Regions from separate parts of the Homo sapiens genome. Here regions 2, 3, 4, 5, 6 and 7 are each linked to region 1. The links are contacts of gene promoters, found by promoter capture Hi-C in blood cells and fetal thymus (Javierre and others, 2016). All regions are on one chromosome and are shown on one strand. The core of a region is centred on a gene start or on the middle of the fragment in contact, and the rest is flanking DNA. Distances in the headings are between cores, read along the strand shown. Region 1 holds the start of ALDH1B1 (aldehyde dehydrogenase 1 family member B1). Region 2 overlaps POLR1E (RNA polymerase I subunit E). Region 3 has its middle 2.1 kb from the start of FBXO10. Region 4 overlaps FRMPD1 (FERM and PDZ domain containing 1). Region 5 overlaps FBXO10 (F-box protein 10). Region 6 has its middle 7.6 kb from the start of FRMPD1. Region 7 has its middle 8.5 kb from the start of POLR1E.

Region 1 (2,700 bases), core at 187-2,686:
AAGGAAAGAACTAAGTGAATTAGGTCCAAGCAGTCGCATGTGAGCACCCTAGATCAGTGGAGAGGCAGGGATTTAATACAAGGAACTGGGTGCTTACAGACCTGCTGCAAGTGCCGGAGGCAGAAGCAAGCCTTAGCCAGACCAGGACCAACTCTCAGGACAATATGGACGTGGCCCACCAGCCTCGTGCCTGTCTGAGGCTACTTCAGACACCCTCCTGCAGCCTCCATTCAAAGAGCAGGAAGCCAGGTCAAGGAGCGGCTACAGCCACAGCGGCCGGTCCACAGCCAGAAAGCTGGAGAAGGGACAAGGAATGCTGCCGCAGAACATCTCCCATTTCTGCTATCCTGCTAGTGCCACCCTACAGGGGCAGGACAATACCCTCCAATGCGTGCCCGCCTTCCACATCCGGCAGAGTACTACTAATTGGCAGCACCTAGTCCACATCCAGAACTCTAACTGCAAATGAGGCTGGGAAACATGGCGGTTAGCTTTGGGACCTCCCTAGCCAGAAGGAAGGTGCAGCGAGGGTGGAGCGAGTGAGATGCATGTTCAGTGGTCCATCTTGGCAACCTTTATAGCAACAAAATGGAGACAATTAAATGTCCAACAGTTTACCCCTACAACAGAATTCTATGCCACCTTGGAGAGGATGATGTCATCTGTAATTAGTGATAGGAGAAAACTTCAAAATACAGCGCTAAGTTTTTAAATTTTTTTTAAAGCAGCACAACAGAGGTTACTATATGATTTTATTTTTATTAAAATAATTTTGAAAGATGCAGAGGAAACAATACTAGCAGGACGAACACCGTAATAATGGCTACCGTAGGTGAAGAGATTACAGGTGATATTTTTCTTCTTTTTTCATCCTTTCCTGTGTTTTCCAAGCTTTCTACACTGTGCATACATTCTTTTTGTCCTTAGGACAAAAATGTACTTTGAAAAATGCCCAAATATAAAATCTTCTTGAAGGAACTGAAGAAAGGAGCAGTGAAAGTGGAGGACAGAAATTAGTGAATCCTGGACAAAAAAAGTGAGGGAGAGGCGAGGCAGAGAAGGGGTTAAGGGGAGTCTCAAGGATGGCAGTCGATTAAGCAGCGTCTTGCAGCGGGGAGAAATGCAAAGTGTAGTTGGGGTTCGGTCTCCGAAAACTTTGCTGTGTGACCTGGGGAAGCCCCTGCCCCTCTCTGGGTATCTCTGTTTCCGCTCCCAAACCAGTGCCTTAGGAGCCTAGATCTGAGCAACGTGGACACTGGGCTTGCGGAGACCCGAGGGAGGGAGCGCTGAAGCGGTGCGGGCTGCCGGGGGTAGAGGGGCGGGGACCGGGAAAGACCGGGCGGGGCGAGGGAGGAGCGGCCTTGGCCGGCGACAGGACGTAGGCAGCGCCCCAGGCGCAGGCGGAGCCTCATTGGCCGCTGAGCCCCGGGCTGCGCGGAGGCGGGACCTGCGGCCAGCCCTGGGCGGCCATGTGGACAGAGCTGGGAGGGCCGGAACCAGAACCCAAGCGTGATCCTGAACCGGAGCCCGAGCCTGCTGCAGGTAACTAACGCTGGTCTCCCCTCGGCTCCCTCGGGAAGCCGCAGCTCCTGGCTCCGCGTGGGGGCTTTCCTCTCTGGGCCGCGGCGTCCGCATCTGGGGGCTGGCCTTTCCGCCGTTGCACTGTAGGACTCTCTCCACGTCCCCTAATCCCATCCCCCGCCTCTGGGTGACGCTACAGGAGCCCCGAGGACACAGACGCCCCCAGACCTTACCACGTTAGCTCGACCTCAACACTCCTGCCCACTCGGCCCACTTCAACAGAGGGCCCCTGACCATAGCCCAGAGGCTTGGACAAGCCCAAAGGTTGCGCCCTTTCCCCCGCAGAAGGGGTGAGGTGGGCGCCGCTGCAGTTCCCGCGGATAGAGAAGGTCCGGTCCTTCCCGCTGTGGGTGAACTGTAAAAAATTGCCTGTATTCAGGAGGATATGCAAAGCTAGGTTTGTGGAAGTCTGGGGTGAGGCTCCTATACTTTCTTGCTGTGTGTCCTCGGTGAGTCCCTGAACCTCTCTGATGCCCAGCCTTCTTCCAGAATGGGGGTCATCATCAACCCTGACCACCCAGGGACTGCAGAGAGGCTTGGCAAATTTCCCGTGAGAAGACAGCCTGCAAACTGTAAAGCATGATGCTCTGTGAGCTGTGATCTTCCTATCAGCAAGTGGAGGCCCCAGCAAGAACCCCATATAGGCCCCAAGAGTAGGAACGGCCTTGGTGTGGCTGCAAAGGTTTGCCAGCCTTGGCCTATGACCACCTCTCCTGACTGCTTCACCCCTCCAATCCTTACCCCATGGGTTGGTGACTCCCCTTTCCCCTACCTCCTTTTGGTCTCCTCACCCTCAGAGCCAGGCCTGTTGGTGGCAAGGGGGCTGTGTCCCAGCATATGGCAAAGTCCTGAGCTAAATGGAACCCTGGGCACCCCTGGCAGATCTGCTGACTCAGCTTCCCCCTGTGGGATATGATGAGGTTTCTCTTCAAATAATCTGATCAATCTTTTATTCTTTAATTCTTAGTATCCCCCCCTTTTTTTTTTTCATTTTTCTCCTTTTTGCCTTTGTTAGATGCCCAGGCATGCCACAGTACCAAGCGTTATCAGTACCAGCTCACATTCCTTTGCTTATTTGGAAAGAAGACTAACTTTCTAGCTCATTACAGACACCCTTTC
Region 2 (2,700 bases), core at 107-2,606, 900 kb before region 1:
TGAACAGAGTTGGCAATGAATCTTTGAATCGTGCAGTGGCTAAAGCTGCAGAGACTATCATTGATACGAAGGGTGTGACTGGTAAGAAGTTGGAACTTGGGCTAAGAGTCTGCCCATAATGACAGCTTTCTCTTCTCTTGAGATCTTTTACCCACCCACACATGGAATGCTGGGAGCTAGGGCTGGATTCCTTTCAGCCTCTTGCTGAAGGCCTTCTCACGGACAGGTTCTGGAAGTAGTAAGAAACATCCGACATGGCTTTGTCTTCTAGTGATCCACAGTCAAGTACAGGGACAGGCATGGAATGGATACATGCCTGCCGTGCTTATGGTGCTGGGGTTATGGCCTGCAGGGCACAGAGGAGGGAGAAGGCCTCAGGTCTCTCCTTGTGCGTTGCAGGGAAGCTTTGGTCAAAAAGGCTGATGTGTTGATGGAAATGAGCCTCCAGAGGTGGCATTTCACTTTGGGATCAGTGGCTCTGTTTCCGGTATTCAGCAGCTGGAGTATTTAATTGTATTATTTTAAAATGTATTTATTGTTCAAATACATTATAAGAACATAAGAGCAAGTTTGTGTAAGAGTAGCTTTTCTTTTTACCGATTTTGGAGATGAGGTCTTGCTATGTTGCCCAGGCTGATCTTGAACCCTTGGCTTCAAGCAGTCCTCCCGCCTCAGCCTCCCAGGTAGCTAGGATTATAGGCGCACACCACTGTGCCCTGGGCAGAGCAGTTTTTCTATTAAGAATGAAATTCTAGTAATTTTTGGAAAATCTTTCCATACCCTATGATTATATAGATTTCAACACTTTCACAAATTTATTTATTGATTGATTGGAGATGGGGTCTTGCTCTATCACCCAGACTAGAGTGCAGTGGTGCAGACATGGCTCACTGCAGCCATAACCTCCTGGGCTCAAGTGATCCTCCTACTTCAGCCTCCCAAGTGGCTGGGATCACAGATGTGTGCCACCATGCTCAGCTAATTTTTTTAGTTTTTTGGAGAGACAGGGTCTTGCCATGTTGCCTGGGCTGGTCTCAAACTTCTGGGCTCAAGCCATCCTCCCGCCTTGGCCTTCCAAAATGTTGAGGTTACAGGTGTGAGCCACCACACCTGGCTGCGGAGTTATTCTTGTGGGGCAGTTACAGTGTTATATTCTGAAAGTTTTGTTCCACCTACAATGTGTGGCAAGTTTTTCTAGAAGTTAAGCCATTAAAGGCTATTTTGGACGTCCCTCACTTTTAGTTTCTCTCATTTTATATTGTAAATGTTTATGTATTAGCACAGCTGTCAATCCCAACTCTATTGTAAGTTACCTGAGGGGAATCTTGTCACCTCCACCTTCTCCAGTGCCTAGCTTGTGTTTGTTCATGAGTGAACATGGCAGTCCTGAAGCAGTCAGCCTGATGGGGAGGCGAGGTCACTTTGGCAGAAGCATTTAGACTTGGGGTTTCTGGACCATTGGTGGTCTGAAGTGCACAGACTGAAAAGAATGTTGGGGAACTGGAAACAAACAGGGTGATACATGGATTGTTTCTTTATTGAAAAGCTCTGGTCAGCGATGCTATCCACAATGACTTGCAAGATGACTCCCTCTACCTTCCTCCCTGCTATGATGATGCAGCCAAGCCTGAAGACGTGTATAAATTTGAAGATCGTATCCTTCTTGCAGTAGAAAAGCTGCCTTATTTCACAAGTTGAGATGTTTGCACGTGTGTGCAGTCAGGTTCTCTGAGGGTGTCTGTGTTCTGTGACATTCACAAGAGCTCCATCCAAACCTTTGCAGTTGCTCAGTGCTCTTGCCAGGAGGTTAACTTGGCTTCCTCACTAGCTGAGGGACCGGCCCCTGGGATTCAAATCCATTCCTCAGCAAAATGCCAAATGCCCACAGCTTAGACCTGTGGGGCTCACTCTCCATGGAGAGTCAAAATAAGAGTTGAACCAGCCAAATGCCCAAAGTCTAGGGCAGACCACTTTTGTTGAAGGAAGGGTTGGAGCTTAGAATTTCACCACCCAAGGGGTCCGGTCAGAAGGAAAATGCCTGCAGTGGCTTTGTGATGAGAAAAAGCAGAAAAGCCTGGGCAGGGAATGGGCTCTGGGCTGGGAGTCGGAGAACTGAGTCACCAAGCTCTGCCCCTATGTGATCTGCCCTGTGTGATCTTTGGCTCTCTGAGCCTGTTTCCCTGTCTGTGAAATGCCACTGCTATGAGATGACCTAGCTAGTTGGATGTTTCTATTTTGGTTGGATTATATTCTTGACCTGTAACTAGTTCTTTCCCCTGCGGAGTATGAAGCTCTTCAGAGCCCATCTGAAGCTTTCAGGAACGTCACGTCAGAAGAAATACTGAAGATGATTGAGGAGAACAGGTACCCTGACTTAAGCAGATGGGGATTCTGGGGAGTGCTGTTGGGACCCAACAGTAGTCAGACACTGTGCAGGTCCTCTGGGCGTCAGTCAGTGAGGAAGTGTGTCTGGAGCATTGGACATGAATGAGCCAGTGTTTTCTTGAATGTTTGGGCTTTCAGGAGCTGTGGGTCACATTCGAGGGAGAGGGCTGGTCTCTGAGTCCGTGGGACCTGCGACAGGGCAGAGGGTGGTGAGGCCTTCTACTCTGGGGCTGGGAACTAGAGCTGGCCTGTGTCACCCAGTGTCATGCTGGTGCTGATTGTCACTGGCAGGGCCCAAATGCTGGCCTGGGAATG
Region 3 (2,700 bases), core at 67-2,566, 810 kb before region 1:
GAGGAAAGATCACTTGAGCTCAGGAGTTCGAGGTTAACAGTGAGCCATGATTGTGCCACTGCACTCCAGCCTGGGTGACAGGGCGAGACTCTTGTTTCAAAAATAAAACTAAATAAATTAGGGACCAAGGAAGGGTAGTCAAGGAAGACCTCTCAGAGTAAGATAAAGAGTTAGCCAAATGGAAGAGGGGCAGGGTAAGCCCTGTGAAAACTCTTGGACCAGGTGGGTTGGGTTGGAGGAGAAAAGATCGCTCTTTGTGGAAATGGAAAACGTCTAGCTTGTCTGAAGCTTTTTAACGGGAAGAACAATATAAGTGAGGTCAGAAAGGTAGGTAGGGGCCAGATCACGCAGCACTTAATAGGCCATGATAAGGATTTTAAAATTGTACGTAACAGGAAGCCATCGAAGGGGTGGAGGATTTGATACCTTTTAAAGCAGTATGTCAGCTACTATGTGAAGACAGGAGTTAAGGGTGGAAGCAGAGATTGGTAGCTTAACCTATTAACTGGGCCCGTGGAGGTGCTATTTATTGAAATGGGAACTATTGTAAGGGGAATATATTTGGAAGCGGGGGGAGATCAAGAACTCCCATTTGAACTTGTTAAATTTGACACTGCCAGTTAGAATGACTATTAACAAAAAGACAAAAAAATAACAAATGCTGGTGAGGACATGGAGAAAAGGGAACTCTCATACACTGAATTATACAGCCAGTATAGAAAAATGCATGGAGGTTTCTCAAAAAAGTAAAACTAGAACTGCCATATGATCCAGCAGTCCCACTGCTGGATATTTATCCAGGAATGGAAATCAGTATGTCAAAGGTATGCCTGGATCCCCATGTTTATTGCAGCACTATTCGCAATAGCCAAGATATGGAAGCAACCTAAGTCTTCATCAACAGATGAATGGATAAAAAGAATGTGGCATATATACACAACAGAATACTATTCAGCCTGTCATTTGCAGCAACACAGATGGAACTGGAGGTCATTATGTAAAGTGAAATAAGCCACGCATAGAAAGACAAATATCACATGTTCTCACTCATACGTGGGAGCTAAAAAGTTGATCTCATGCAGTTGGCAAGTAGAATGACAGTTACCAGAGGCTGGGAGGGGAAGGGGATAGAGAGAGGTTGGTTAATGGGTACAAACATGGATAGAAGGAATAAATTTTAGTGTTCAATAGCACAGTAGGGTGACTGTAGTTAACAATAATTTATTGTATATTTCAAAATAGCTAGATTTAAATGCTCCCAATACAAATAAATGATAAATTTTTGAGATGGATATTCTAAATACCCTGATTTGATCATTACGTATTGTATGCATGAGTCAAATATCACATGTACCCCATAAATATGTACAATTATCTATCAATTAAAAATAATTAATTTTGAGATGCCTGTGTGTCATCCAAGTGGAGTGATTAAAAAAGCAATTCACGGCTGGGCGTGGTGGCTCACGCCTGTAATCCCAGCACTCTGGGAGGTCGAACGGACGAATCACGAGGTCAGGAGTTTGAGACCAGACTGACCAACATGGTGAAACGCCGTCTCTATTAAAAACACAAAAATTGGCTGGGTGTGGTGGCGCGTGCCTGTAATTCCAGCTATCAGGAGGCTGAGGCAGGAGAATCGCTTGAACCTGGGAGGTGGTGGTTGCAGTGAGCAGAGATCGTGCGCCACTGCACTCCAGCCTGAGTGGCAGAGTGAGACTGTGTCTCAAAAAAAAAAAAAAAAAAGCAGTTCACTTGTAATCCCAGCTACTCAGGAGGCTGAGGCAGGAGGATCGCTTGAACCCAGGAGTTTGAGACCAACCTGGGCAACGAAGCAAGACCCTGTCTCTAAAAAAGAAAAGGAGTTGGATACAGACCTCCGGAATTTACGAGAGAATATCAGCTATAGAAACATAATTTACCAAGAATACTATGAAAAAGAAATTATTACACGAAATTGTGGCCTGAAATAATTGACCCCGTGGTCCTACTGACCTTTTTCAGTCCCTGGTTCTATAGAATATATTCCATAAAAATGTATTCCATCTATTATTACCATATGGTGAATGTGGTATGATTCTGGGTGAGGTCTAAGTTACCATGTAGCTGGTCTCTTTTATAAATAAGAAAACCAAACACTAAAACCTAAAGCCAACAATTTATTTTAAGACACAAAGTTGTACAGTAGCTAGGTATAGTAGAAAGACCACAGGGGTAGTCTCACACTGCAATGAGCCTGATGATTTACCTTGCTGACTGACAAAGCTATGCCATATTTAATCCTTTGAAAAGTATCTTACTCCATGAAACTGGCAGTCCAGATATGACTGTCAATAAACAATCAAAAGCTTGAGTTTCTGGATTTGTGCCAGCTAACATTATCATTTTGGTATTTGTATAAAACAGCTGACTTTCAAAGTGCTACAGCAGTGTCCTACAAGAGCAAGCTGTCTTCCCTATTAGTGGGGCAAGCATCACGTGCCACATGGGAATTTTTGTTTGTTTTGAGATGGGGTTTTGCTCTTGTCGCCCAGACTGGAGTGCAATGGCATGATCTTGGCTCACCGCAACCCCCACCTCCCAGGTTCAAGCGATTGTCCTGCTTCAGCCTCCCCCGTAGCTGGTATTAACAGGTACCAGCCACTAGGCCCAGCTAATTTTTGTATTTTAGTAGAGACGGGGTTTCACCATGTTGGCCAG
Region 4 (2,700 bases), core at 178-2,677, 670 kb before region 1:
TGGCCAACATGGTGAAACCCTGTCTCTACTAAAAATACAAAAATTAGGCTGGGCACAGTGGCTTAGGCCTGTAATCCCAGCACTTTGGGAGGCTGAGGCGGGTGGATCACCTGAGGTCAGGAGTTCAAGACCAGCCTGGCCAACATGGTGAAACCCCATCTCTACTAAAAAAAAAATACAAAAATTAGCTGGGCATGGTGGTGTGTGCCTGTAGTCTCAGCTACTCGGGAGGCTGAGACAGGAGAATTTGCTTGAACCCAGGAGGTGGAAGTTGCAGTGAGCCAAGATTGCACCACTGCACTCCAGCCTGGGTGACAGAGTGAGACTCTGTCAAAAAAAATAAAAAAAATAAAAAAAAATAAAAGCCAGTCGTGGTGGCAGGTGCCTGTAATCCCAGCTATTTGGCAGGCTGAGGTGGGAGAGTCGCTTGAACCTGGGAGTCAGAGGTTGAGTGAGCCGAGATCGTACCACTGTTCTCCAGCCTGGGTGACAGAGAGAGACCCTGTCTCCAGAAGGAATAAAAAAAGACAGGGATACAACAATACTCTTGTGTTTTCCAGGGTAATTCTCTGCTGTGTATGCCCAACGTGCTCAAGCTATACTTGGAGAATGGACAGACCAAAGCTTTCAAGTTTGAGGCAAACACAACCGTGAAGGTATTAAGAATAAACTTGAACTTCTTTTCCCAAGAAGAATGTTCTGGCTGCTAGGACCCCCCAGGCATCTTGCCCTGCATCTGCCTTGGTGGTCTCACAAACACCGTGGTCTGAGCCCCTGTAATAATAAGCCAGGTGCCATGTTATCTCATTTCGTTGCACGACCACCCAGAAAGATGGTCTTTTTACCACCATCGTAACTGGGTGGGGGTTAAGGGGTGGGAATCGGGACTTAGAGAGATGAAGTGACTTGCCCAAAGGTCAGATTAGAACTCCTAAGCCTTCACCCATAACCACCAGGCTTCCCTGCCATTTGTCTGTGACTCTACCTGCTACGCCAAACACTACGAAAACCCAGGTGAGATGTCAGGAAAGGCCCAGGCGCTGCCTATTCTGTTCTTGGTTAAAGTCAATTGAACTTATACTTCACAAGTTTCCCCATATGAGATGATCTGAGAGGGGTTACTGAGCTTAGTCAGGGGTGGTCTCGATCTTCAGGAGCTTGCAGTCTAGTTGAGGGACGGTGGACGTTCAGGGAATGCTTGATTGTCCAAGGCAGGATGAAATAAGGGCCAAGTGCAAGGGGAAGAGTACCATCTCTTCCAGCCTGTCCAGACTTCAGACAAGGCATGGGAAAGAAGCTGGACCTGCGCTGAGCTTTGGAGGATAACTAAGATTTCAACAAGGGCCAGTAGGGACAGGGCAGTTGAGGGTAGGGTACATATCAATCAGAGAGTCACGTGAACTAATGCAGAGAGCCAGAAAAATGGCAATTGCCCAGGAAATAGCAAACCATCCAGCAGGACTGGGGCACAGGCTGTTTTCTTGTGGAAGGAGTGGCTGTGGAGGGCCTCAAATGCCAGGCAACAATAGAGCTTGAGTTTTATCCATAGATAATATCGTATGGTGCTAGCAGTTCTTGAACAAGGGAGTAAATAGTGTTAGAGTGAGGCCGCAGTGAAGAAGCAAAGTTGTTCAAACAGTAAAAACCATGTAAGAGGAAACATTGAGCCCAGCTCTTCTGGTACAAGGGGAGAGCAGGTTCAGGAGGGCCAATGCAGCTATAGGGGACAAACAGTAGCCAAGACACACATGCACACACACATCTGCACAGTACATTCACACACATGCATATGCATGCACACATATGTACAATGTACATACACCTGTACGCACACATCCAGTGCTTCTCTCTGGCACCTTCATTTGGCAATTCCTACAGCTGCTCCAAATGCTCTATTCTATTTCTTCCTAAATGTGAGTTAGAAGAAGCTGGAGAAGGGCTTTCTGAACCTGGGGAACTCCAAGCCCAGAGGAGGAAGCAATGGAGGAATAGACTTTAAGTGTTTACTACATGCCAGGCACGCTTCCTGGGCACTTTCTTGTATACGATCTCATTTAATGCCCTAGCAACCTTGTGAAGTAACTAGTGTTATCCCCACTTTGCAGAAGAGAAAACAGGCCCAAGAGGCCCAAAAGCTGTCAAGATCAGCTAGCTCATAACTGGCTTTGAACTTGGTCTGTTTTTGAATCCTGTGCTGGAATCTTGTCACTCTGCCATTCTGCAGAAAAGGGAAGCTTTGCAAATGGATTAGACAAGAGTTCTACTTTCATCATCTTTGCTCAAAGTGGATTGGAATAGAAGGGTTGATTTTTTTTAAAGCAAGTCCCCCTTTGGTGGCCAAAAGGACTTTGAGGTAGTTTACAATAAAGGCCCACATTACAGGGGAATTAAACTTAAGATGACAGAGAGAGTTGGGGAAATGAACAAGGACTTAGCCAGTATAATACTGGTTAATCTTATTTATCTGTAATAGCCAAATTTTTTAAAGCAAAGTCTTTAGCTGTTTACGACACAGAGAAAGGTGGACATAAATAAATCTTATGAGTGAAAAAAGGAAAAATTACTGTCCACTCATCAGTGACTTCTCTTCCCCTTTCCCTCACTAAGGGAAGAAAAGTTCTTGTATTAGAAAACCCTCTTTCTCTAAACCAAGAAAAAGAATATGTCATTTGACCCAGTAAACATTTATTGACACTTTTT
Region 5 (2,700 bases), core at 159-2,658, 880 kb before region 1:
AAAAGTTCATTTGCTTTTGTTGAATGTCTGGCACATGTCTGTCAGCCAGCAGGCACCTGGGACCCTGCTCCGGGTTAGCTTCACCCCGGGACTCGGGCTGCCATGTCTGACACGTGGTGGTCCACTGGCAGAGGGACACACGATCGGGGCAAGTTCTGCTGGCCCTTAAAGCTTCTACCCAGAAGTGACCATTAACCACTTCTGCCTACATTCACTGGGCAAATCAGGTCCCATGGCAACGTGAGAGGGCATGTACTCTCCCTGAGGGGCAGCAAACAGTAACTACCAAAACCAATGAATATTTTCATTTTAATAGTTTAATGTATGTTTATAGTAATATAAAAAGTCTTTTCAGTGTGTGAAAAAAAGACATGTTGTAGGATGGGATCCTGGAATGGAAAAAGGACATTAGGTAACAAACTAAAGAAATCTGAGGCCAGGCACAGTGGCTCATGTTTGTAATCCCAGCACTTTGGGGGATTGAAGCAGGCGGATCACTTGAGCCCAGGAGTTTGAGACCAGGCTAGGCAACATGGCAAAACCCCGTCTCTACAAAAAAATACATAAATTAGCCAGGCGTGGTGGTGCATGCCTGTAGTCCCAGCTGCTCAGGAGGCTGAGGTGGGAGGATCACCTGAGTGAGCCTGAGGAGGTCAAGGCTGCGGTGAACCATGATCACACCACTGCACTCTAGCCTGGGCAACAGAGTGAGATCCCGTTTCAAAAAGAAAAAAATCTGAATAAACTATGGACTTTAGTTAATAATGTGCCAGTACTAGTTTATGAATTTTTACAAATGTACACTGATAGCATAAGATGTTAATAACACAGAAACTCGGGGGTGGCAAGGGTGATATGGGAACTCTAGTAATCATCTGTCTGCTCAATTTTTCTGCATATTTAAAACTTCTAAAAATTAAGTAGATTTAAAGAAAAAAGTACTAACTTCTCAGGTGACATATGGATATAGCAAAAATTCTAAGATGCTGAGTAAGTGAAGTTGGGGAAGTGTGCTCCGGGGTCTGAGGTCCCTAAGCTGACAGTCCAGTGATCCATGGGGACGGCCTGTTTCTGTTGTCTTCACAGAGCAGGCAGGAGTGGAATTATAGCCCGATTGAGCCCTTCAGCCCTATATCTGGAACTGTCACAGGAACAAGCTGACCCAACAAGATGGCCCCAGGATTCTCCTGTCTCCTTCAGAGGAAACAGTGCTGGGCCTGGCCAGCTGGGAGCCCCAGTATATGCCCAGACTAAGGAAAGGCTTCCAAAAGTGCCTTTTTTAAAATATAGAACTTTATTTTGGTTACTGAGGTTTTTGTTACTGTTGGTTCACAGAAAAGTCATTTCTTAGAAAATAGTAACGGCAGCATTTTTTACAGCGACTCACATTGGGGCCACCAAACAAGTGCAAAGGACAGTGCCAGGGATAGAAGAGGCCAGTACTCTTGTGCCCAGTGTTCTCAGGGAGAACCCAGTGCTCCTGGCTCCCTCTACCCCCTCCCATCCCACCCAACAGAGCAGCACCTAGGGCCAATAGAACCAGCCACGCAGCCAAGTGCACGACAGTGACCCCAGCAGGCTGGTGAAGGCCCCACAGGAAAGGCCGAGTGGGAGGGGATTGTTCAGGTTGAGCTGGCCCTGCATCCAGCCCTCTTCCTCAGGCAGTGGGGTCTGACCTCACCTGGCTTTGGGACTTGGACATATTCACAGTACGGTTCAGTAAAGTCCTCTGGGAGCTGGCCTTCCTCTCCTCACTCAGGCCACTAATCCTACCCCAACCCCAGGCTGGATCTGGGGACACACAGTCAGAAGTGGCCCTACCTACGGGGAGCACACAGGTGAGTGGGGGGTCAGGCAATGGACCCAGATAGCTCCAGGACAAGGCAGAAAGTGCTCAGTACCCTGAGAGGGAGCAGAGAAAGGCCACTGAGGCCCAGAGGGGGAAAGAGGGCAGGGAGAGCTATGTGGAGGTGGCAGTGTCTCGGCTAAACCTTGAGGAACGAGGACACGGAGATGGGGGAGAAGGGCATGCCGGGAGGAGGAAAGAGCATGAGCCAAGGCACAGAGTGGGGAGGCTTGGGAGGGTCAGTAAAGACCAGCGCTCATCCATGAGAACACAGATGCGAACGAGAGGCCCAGGTACCCTCATCTGAACAGGCTGATGCTCAGGAGGGGCGGCTGGTGTGGGCACGCTCACATGGGGTTTGAATCCTTCTGCATTTGGGAGCTCTCTGGGGATGGAGTAGAGCCTTGTGCATCCCTGCCCACCCAGCCTAGCATCTGCCTGCACGCTGCAGCCCCACCTGTTTCAGCATGTCCCTCTTGTCATCCCTGGGGCAGCCTTTCCATGGGGTCTCCTGTTGCTCCCAGGTCCTTCCTTCCTCCCAGGTCCATGTCCAAGTCCTCAAGTCAACCAAACTCAACTCCTCCAGCCTCCAGAGACAGCTGGGAGGGTGTGGTGGGGTCCCTGGAGGGATTGAGAGGGAGACAGCTCTAGCAAAGGGGAAAATTCTGGAGCAGTTGTCTCTCTCCACCTCACTAGAATCACTTCCCGCCATCAGAAGTAAATCTGCTCTTTCCTGAGAAGAGTCTGGGTTTGGTGTGTGTAAAACACAGTTCCTTAGAACTCAGAGAAAATCCTGACCAAAAGCTTCAGCATTTGAGCTTCCCCCGCTCTTCACAATCTTTATAGACTTCGAG
Region 6 (2,700 bases), core at 142-2,641, 750 kb before region 1:
CAGGCTTGACCAAAATAACCTAGAAAGGTAGGACAGGCCCTTTGCTCTTTAAAATTTAAATTTCTGGATCACTACAGCAAAACTATTGGAGTGAGAAAGACAATCACCATGGGAAATATGCTCCAAAAGCTGTTTTCACCTGTTGACAGAACAGAGGAGGGTAGCAGAACCCTCCCAGATTTAAATTCTGACTCAATCACCAACACCAGCTATCTGGATGATCTTGAGCAGGTTACTTAACCATGTAGAGTCTCTTTGTCTGCAAAAAAGACACATGATACTTGCTTGTTGGAGTTTTTGTGTTAGTATATTAAAAATACATAGCATCTAATAGGTGTTCCTTTCCATCCTTAGAGCCTTCCCATAGGCTGTTCTCTCTGCCTGGAAGCTCTATCATCCCTCTCCCCTTCAATAGCTGACTTGGACTTATTATTTAGTTTCTTTCACTAGATTTCTTGGATTTGAATCCAAGCTCTTACTAGTTGAGTGACCAGGGGAACATTTGGCCTTGGTTTTCTCATTTATAAAGTGGGGATATTAATATATAATTCATAGGGTTATTAAAATGAGATAAACCGCTTAGAACAGTGCCTAACAAATATTAGGTCTCAATAAAATTTGGCAAGGACGATTTGTGGGATCCATAATTCCAGAGGGCTCTGTTTCCTCCTTCGGTAAGCTATTCACATTGCCTGGAAGCTCATGACATTTACTCTTTATTCTAGGAGTTCAGAAATTTCACCAGGATATATTTTTAAATATCCATTCTGCCAATCTTTGTCTTTTAATTGGTGTATTTAGATTATTTACATTTAATATAATTACTAAAATGTTAGCACTTAACTCTGCTATGTTGTTATTTCTTTTCTTTCTGCACAGGGGAAAGTCTTGGAAGCTTTCTCTCCCATCTGTTTGTTCCCCATTTCTCACTCCTCTTTTTTCTTTTTCCTGCCTCCCTGTGGAGTACTTGGGCTTTTTAAAGAATTCTACTTTGATTTATCTAAAGTATTTTTGAGTGTATCTCTCTGTATAGTTTTTAAAGTTGTTGCTCAAGTATTAAATCATACATAAATAACTTATTACAGTCTACTGCTCCTGACATTTTACCCTTTTCAGTGAAATGCCCAGGACTGGAAGTTCTAGGTGTGTGTTTTAAAATTAATACAGTGTAGAAATTAGAGTCTTTTTTACCTGATAACTCAAGTCCATACATTTAATGTATAGGTAATTCAAGTGCATACATTTTATCTGATAATTCAAGACTATGGGCTTAGTCTTTTTTTCTATTATATTTTGGTTATTGCTTTGCTCCTTTGTTATTTTTTTCCTCCATTTGGTACTATTATTTGCATATCTTCTAGATATTTCATCAATGTTTTAAAACCCTCTGACTCATAATTTCTATTTCTTTTTAATTTTGGTTTGGTACTGTGGGGTAGTTCTCCTTTTTCATCTTTCAGATCATTAAATCAGTTTTCAGTGGTGTTCATTACATTTTTCATTTCCACAATTGCAAATTTAAAAAATTGTGTATTTAACTTTCAAAAACAATTTTTCCTCATTTTGATCATTTCTTTCTAGTCTCTGCTTGAATCTCCTTACATTTTTGATTTTAAAAAGTTAGTTTTTCTTCTATTAAATTGATCTCAATGTGATTCCTCTCTTTTAGTTATTTGTCTTGGTTGTGCTCCTTCAAGCTATTGACTCCCTTTAAATAATCTCTGATCTGCTTTGGCTACTTATATCCACAAGTGGGTAAGTTGGGCTTTTGTGGCCTCTTGGGTACAATAGTTCAGCGATCATGAAAGGAAAGAATGATGCTTCTCCAGTGGCCTGGTGGTGAACAAAGCTACCTGGCTGGGTCCACCAGGCTGAGGTGAGGTGGAAGAAGCTTTTAGGATCTTTGGACACTCCCAGAATTAATAGGGTGGGGTTGCGCTGCTGTGTGCCATTGTGTAGTTTGCTTATTGCAAGGGCATCTGGTGGAGAGGATTAATAGGAGCCAACATCCACTTGCTGAGCTGTGTACCCTAGTGTGGAGCTACATTGGCCCAAAGGAAGGAAGCATATTTTCTCATTTTCACAAAGGTATCTGAGAGGGGAAGCTTTTTTCTAACCCACATAAAGATGCTGTGTGGGCTAGGTGTGACCCTGAAGGGATAGTTTGGTCCACCTGTGACATTCGGTTCTACAGAGGCAGGTCTTGACAGAGTCAGGGGTCTTCCCACAGAGCTATTTGCAGGAAGTGGGCAGGGACAGTTCTTCCTCTCCTGTTGAGAGGTCCTGCTTAGTTGGGGTAGCTGGGCCCCTCAGGTAGCCCAGGATTGAAAGCCTTCACTGCAGACTCACTAGCGAGGCTGACTAGTTCTCAGGCTCCTGGGCCTTTGTCCTTCTTGCAATGGTGGACGGTGTGGCAGCAACACCGCCCTTTGCCAATCCTGCACTGCGATTGTCTGTGTGGGATTGGGCTCCAGCTATAGGCAACAGTGTCCTATGCCCCATTCACTGTATGGCTCACAATTTGGGTCCCCTCAGCAGGGAGCTGGGTAAGAGAAGGGCTTGGAAGGTGGCCCCCCATCTTCAGAGAAGCCCCCTGGGTAGGCACGCTAAGGTGATTTAGGAAGTTTCTCTATAACACAGTTCTAATACAGCCATCTTTCCTCCCCAACAATAGAGCTCAGTTTCCCAAATAAACCTGAA
Region 7 (2,827 bases), core at 28-2,527, 920 kb before region 1:
ACAGGCACCTGCCACCATGCCCAGTTATTTTTTTTTTGTATTTTTAGTAGAGACAGGGTTTCACCATGTTGGCCAGGCTGATCTGGAACTCCCAACCTCAGGTGATCCAACCGCCTCAGCCTCCCAAAGTGCCAAGATTACAGGCATGAGCCACTGCACCCAGCCTTGTTTATTTTTTGGTAGAGACAAGGTCTCACTATGTTGCCCAGGCTGGTCTCGAATTCCTGAGCAATTCTTTCACCTCAGCCTCCCAAAGTGCTAGAATTACAGGCGTGAACCACCATGCCCAGCCCCTAGTCACTTACTAAAGGCCCCACCTCTTAATACTATCACAATGGCAATTACATTTCAACATGACTTTTGGAGGGGACATTCAAACCATGGCAATATGTGAAGCCAACAAAACTGACAGAACCAGGCCGGGTGTGGCGGCTCACACCTGTAATCCCAGCACTTTGGGAGGCCAAGGCAGGCAGATCACTTGAGGTCAGGAGTTCAAGACCAGCCTGGCCAACATGGTGAAACCTCATCTCTACTAAAAATACAAAAAAATTAGCCAAGCATGGTGGCAGGTGCCTGTAATCCCAGCTACTCAGGAGGCTGAGGCAGGAGAATCGCTTGAACCCAGGAGACGGAGGTTGCAGTGAGCTGAGATCGCACCACTGCACTCCAGCCTGGGTGACAGAGTGAGACTCTGCCTCCAAAGAAACAAAAACAAAAAAACCTGATAGAACCTAAAAGGGCAATTCTAGAGACTCAGCAGTATCCACCCTATAGTATGCTTTTTCCATTTTCTGTGTTCCTCCTAGGAAGTTAGTTCCTGAAGCCAAGGATCGTAGATTTTAATTCTTATATCTTTTGAAATGTCTTGTACAATGTTAGAAGACAGCATGAGGATTTTAAAACATCTGAAAATTGTTCAGCGATAAATTTGACTGTGTATTAAGAATCCTTTTTAGGGGTGGGAAGGAGGACCAGCCGAACCCTCATGTGGGACAGAGTGCGTGTGTGGTGTGTCCCCAAGGGCAGGAATTTGGCGAAGGGAGGTGAATCAGAGTGGGTGGAGGGAGGGGAAGGGCGGGAGGAGAAAAAGGTGGGAAGAGGACCAGGTGGGAGGGTGGCAGCTCACTCAGGAACCCGCGGGGGCAGCGCAATGAGGCGGGTGACCCTGTTCCTGAACGGCAGCCCCAAGAACGGAAAGGTGGTTGCTGCATATGGAACTTCATGTGATTTGCTGTCTGTGGCCAGCAGTAAACTCGGCATAAAAGCCACCAGTGTGTATAATGGGAAAGGTGGACTGAATGATGATATTGTTTTGATCAGGGATGATGATGTTTTATTTGTGTGTGAGGGAGAGCCATTTATTGATCCTCAGACAGATTCTAAGCCTCCTGAAGGATTGCTAGGATTCCACACAGACTGGCTAACATTACATGTTGGAGGGCAGTACTTTACAACTACCTGGAGCACTTTAGTGAATAAAGAACCTGACATTATGCTGGCCCACATGTTTAAGGACAAAGGTGTCTGGGGAAATAAGCAAGATCATAGAGGAGCTTTCTTAATTGACCAAAGTCCTGAGTACTTTGAACCCATTTTGAACTACTTGCGTCATGGACAGCTCATTGTAAATGATGGCATTGATTTATTGGGTGTGTTAGAAGAAGCAAGATTTTTTGGTATTGACTCATTGATTGAACACCTAAAAGTGGCAATAAAGAATTCTCAACCACCAGAGGATCACTTACCAATATCCCGAAAGGAATTTGTCCGATGTTTGCTAGCAACTCCAACCAAGTCAGAAATGCGATGCCAGGGTTTGAACTTCAGTGGTGCTGAACTTTCTCATTTGGATCTTCGATACATTAACTTCAAAATCACCAATTTAAACTGCTGCAATCTTGCACATGCAAATCTTTGCTGTGCAAATCTTGAATGAGCTGATCTCTCTGGATCAGTGCTTGACTGTGCAAATCTCCAGGGAGTCAAATGCTCTGTTCTAATGCAGAAGGAGCATCTCTGAAACTGTGTAATTTTGAGGATCCTTCTGGTCTTAAAGCCAATTTAGAAGGTGCTAATCTGAAAGGTGTGGATATGGAAGGAAGTCAGATGACAGGAATTAACCTGAGAGTGGCTACCTTAAAAAATGCAAAGTTGAAGAACTGTAGCCTCAGAGGAGCAACTCTGACAGGAACTGATTTAGAGAACTGTGATCTGTCTGGGTGTGATCTTCAAGAAGCCAACCTGAGAGGGTCCAACGTGAGGGGAGCTAGATTTGAAGAGATGCTGACACCACTACACATGTCGCAAAGTGTCAGATGAGAATTTTAGGGGCTGAAGGAAGATGTGCAAGATGAAAATGTTTTCCTTATCGCTTTTCTTTCTCCACCCACTCAGTTGTCTAGAAGAAATAACACTGTCAGCAAATTTTAAAAAATCATTTAGAGGATTATGCTTGTTTTCAGCATGCATAAGGGAAAAAACTGACTTTTTTTTCCATATTCTGATTTTTAACGCAAAAGCACTCATTCAATAGATGTAGGGAAACTAGATATTGCTGCCTTTTGAATGGGGTAGGGGAGTTTACCTGGTTTTATGACCACGAATAGTATCTATTGTATTTGCTTTTAAATAGGCATGATGTGGAAATGCCCTCTTGGTTTGAGATGCATTTGAGGATTTTAATTTATGGAAAGCACAACATATGCAATTATATTTATTGAATACCTAGATGCAGTATGGATATTTAAATTGTTAAAACTTTATGAAAACTTGGAAAAGGTTGCTCAGGTTTATAAATAGCTTCAGTGATGCCTCCCCTCTTTAA

What was found. The method cuts DNA at HindIII sites, captures the fragments that hold promoters and counts their contacts. A CHiCAGO score of 5 or more calls a contact.
Region 2: a fragment that was not itself captured here is called in contact with the fragment with the promoter of ALDH1B1 in region 1 in 2 of 17 cell types (endothelial precursors and M2 macrophages); the score reaches 5.4 in endothelial precursors.
Region 3: a contact is called between a fragment that was not itself captured here and the fragment with the promoter of ALDH1B1 in region 1, in 2 of 17 cell types (M0 macrophages and endothelial precursors). The highest score is 7.4, in M0 macrophages.
Region 4: a fragment that was not itself captured here is called in contact with the fragment with the promoter of ALDH1B1 in region 1 in 3 of 17 cell types (endothelial precursors, M0 macrophages and M2 macrophages); the score reaches 7.5 in endothelial precursors.
Region 5: a fragment that was not itself captured here is called in contact with the fragment with the promoter of ALDH1B1 in region 1 in 1 of 17 cell types (endothelial precursors); the score reaches 5.3 in endothelial precursors.
Region 6: a fragment that was not itself captured here is called in contact with the fragment with the promoter of ALDH1B1 in region 1 in 1 of 17 cell types (endothelial precursors); the score reaches 5.0 in endothelial precursors.
Region 7: a fragment that was not itself captured here is called in contact with the fragment with the promoter of ALDH1B1 in region 1 in 1 of 17 cell types (endothelial precursors); the score reaches 6.5 in endothelial precursors.

The regions. Positions count from the first base shown.
Region 1 is chr9:38,391,266-38,393,965 of GRCh38, forward strand. It overlaps ALDH1B1 (aldehyde dehydrogenase 1 family member B1), which reads left to right and starts at 1,437. Exons shown (of 2, transcript NM_000692.5): 1 at 1,437-1,542. RefSeq lists a silencer at 1,204-1,523 and enhancers at 1,734-1,783, 1,824-1,913. The HindIII fragment of the contact is 5,526 bases long and covers 890-2,700 here.
Region 2 is chr9:37,493,623-37,496,322 of GRCh38, forward strand. It overlaps POLR1E (RNA polymerase I subunit E), which reads left to right. Exons shown (of 12, transcript NM_022490.4): 6 at 1-81; 7 at 1,547-1,654; 8 at 2,268-2,364. Among named protein-coding and RNA genes, the nearest start is that of POLR1E, 9.0 kb to the left of the region's middle. The HindIII fragment of the contact is 1,908 bases long and covers 403-2,310 here.
Region 3 is chr9:37,577,090-37,579,789 of GRCh38, forward strand. No RefSeq gene overlaps it. Among named protein-coding and RNA genes, the nearest start is that of FBXO10, 2.1 kb to the left of the region's middle. The HindIII fragment of the contact is 2,060 bases long and covers 287-2,346 here.
Region 4 is chr9:37,723,665-37,726,364 of GRCh38, forward strand. It overlaps FRMPD1 (FERM and PDZ domain containing 1), which reads left to right. Exons shown (of 16, transcript NM_014907.3): 7 at 561-656. Among named protein-coding and RNA genes, the nearest start is that of TRMT10B, 29 kb to the right of the region's middle. The HindIII fragment of the contact is 1,610 bases long and covers 623-2,232 here.
Region 5 is chr9:37,509,621-37,512,320 of GRCh38, forward strand. It overlaps FBXO10 (F-box protein 10), which reads right to left. Exons shown (of 11, transcript NM_012166.3): 11 at 1,272-2,700. Among named protein-coding and RNA genes, the nearest start is that of POLR1E, 25 kb to the left of the region's middle. RefSeq lists an enhancer at 1,946-2,502. The HindIII fragment of the contact is 2,479 bases long and covers 170-2,648 here.
Region 6 is chr9:37,641,981-37,644,680 of GRCh38, forward strand. It overlaps a transcript of FRMPD1 not described here. Among named protein-coding and RNA genes, the nearest start is that of FRMPD1, 7.6 kb to the right of the region's middle. The HindIII fragment of the contact is 996 bases long and covers 894-1,889 here.
Region 7 is chr9:37,475,996-37,478,822 of GRCh38, forward strand. It overlaps the pseudogene KCTD9P3. Among named protein-coding and RNA genes, the nearest start is that of POLR1E, 8.5 kb to the right of the region's middle. RefSeq lists an enhancer at 1,136-2,335. The HindIII fragment of the contact is 4,652 bases long and covers 1-2,827 here.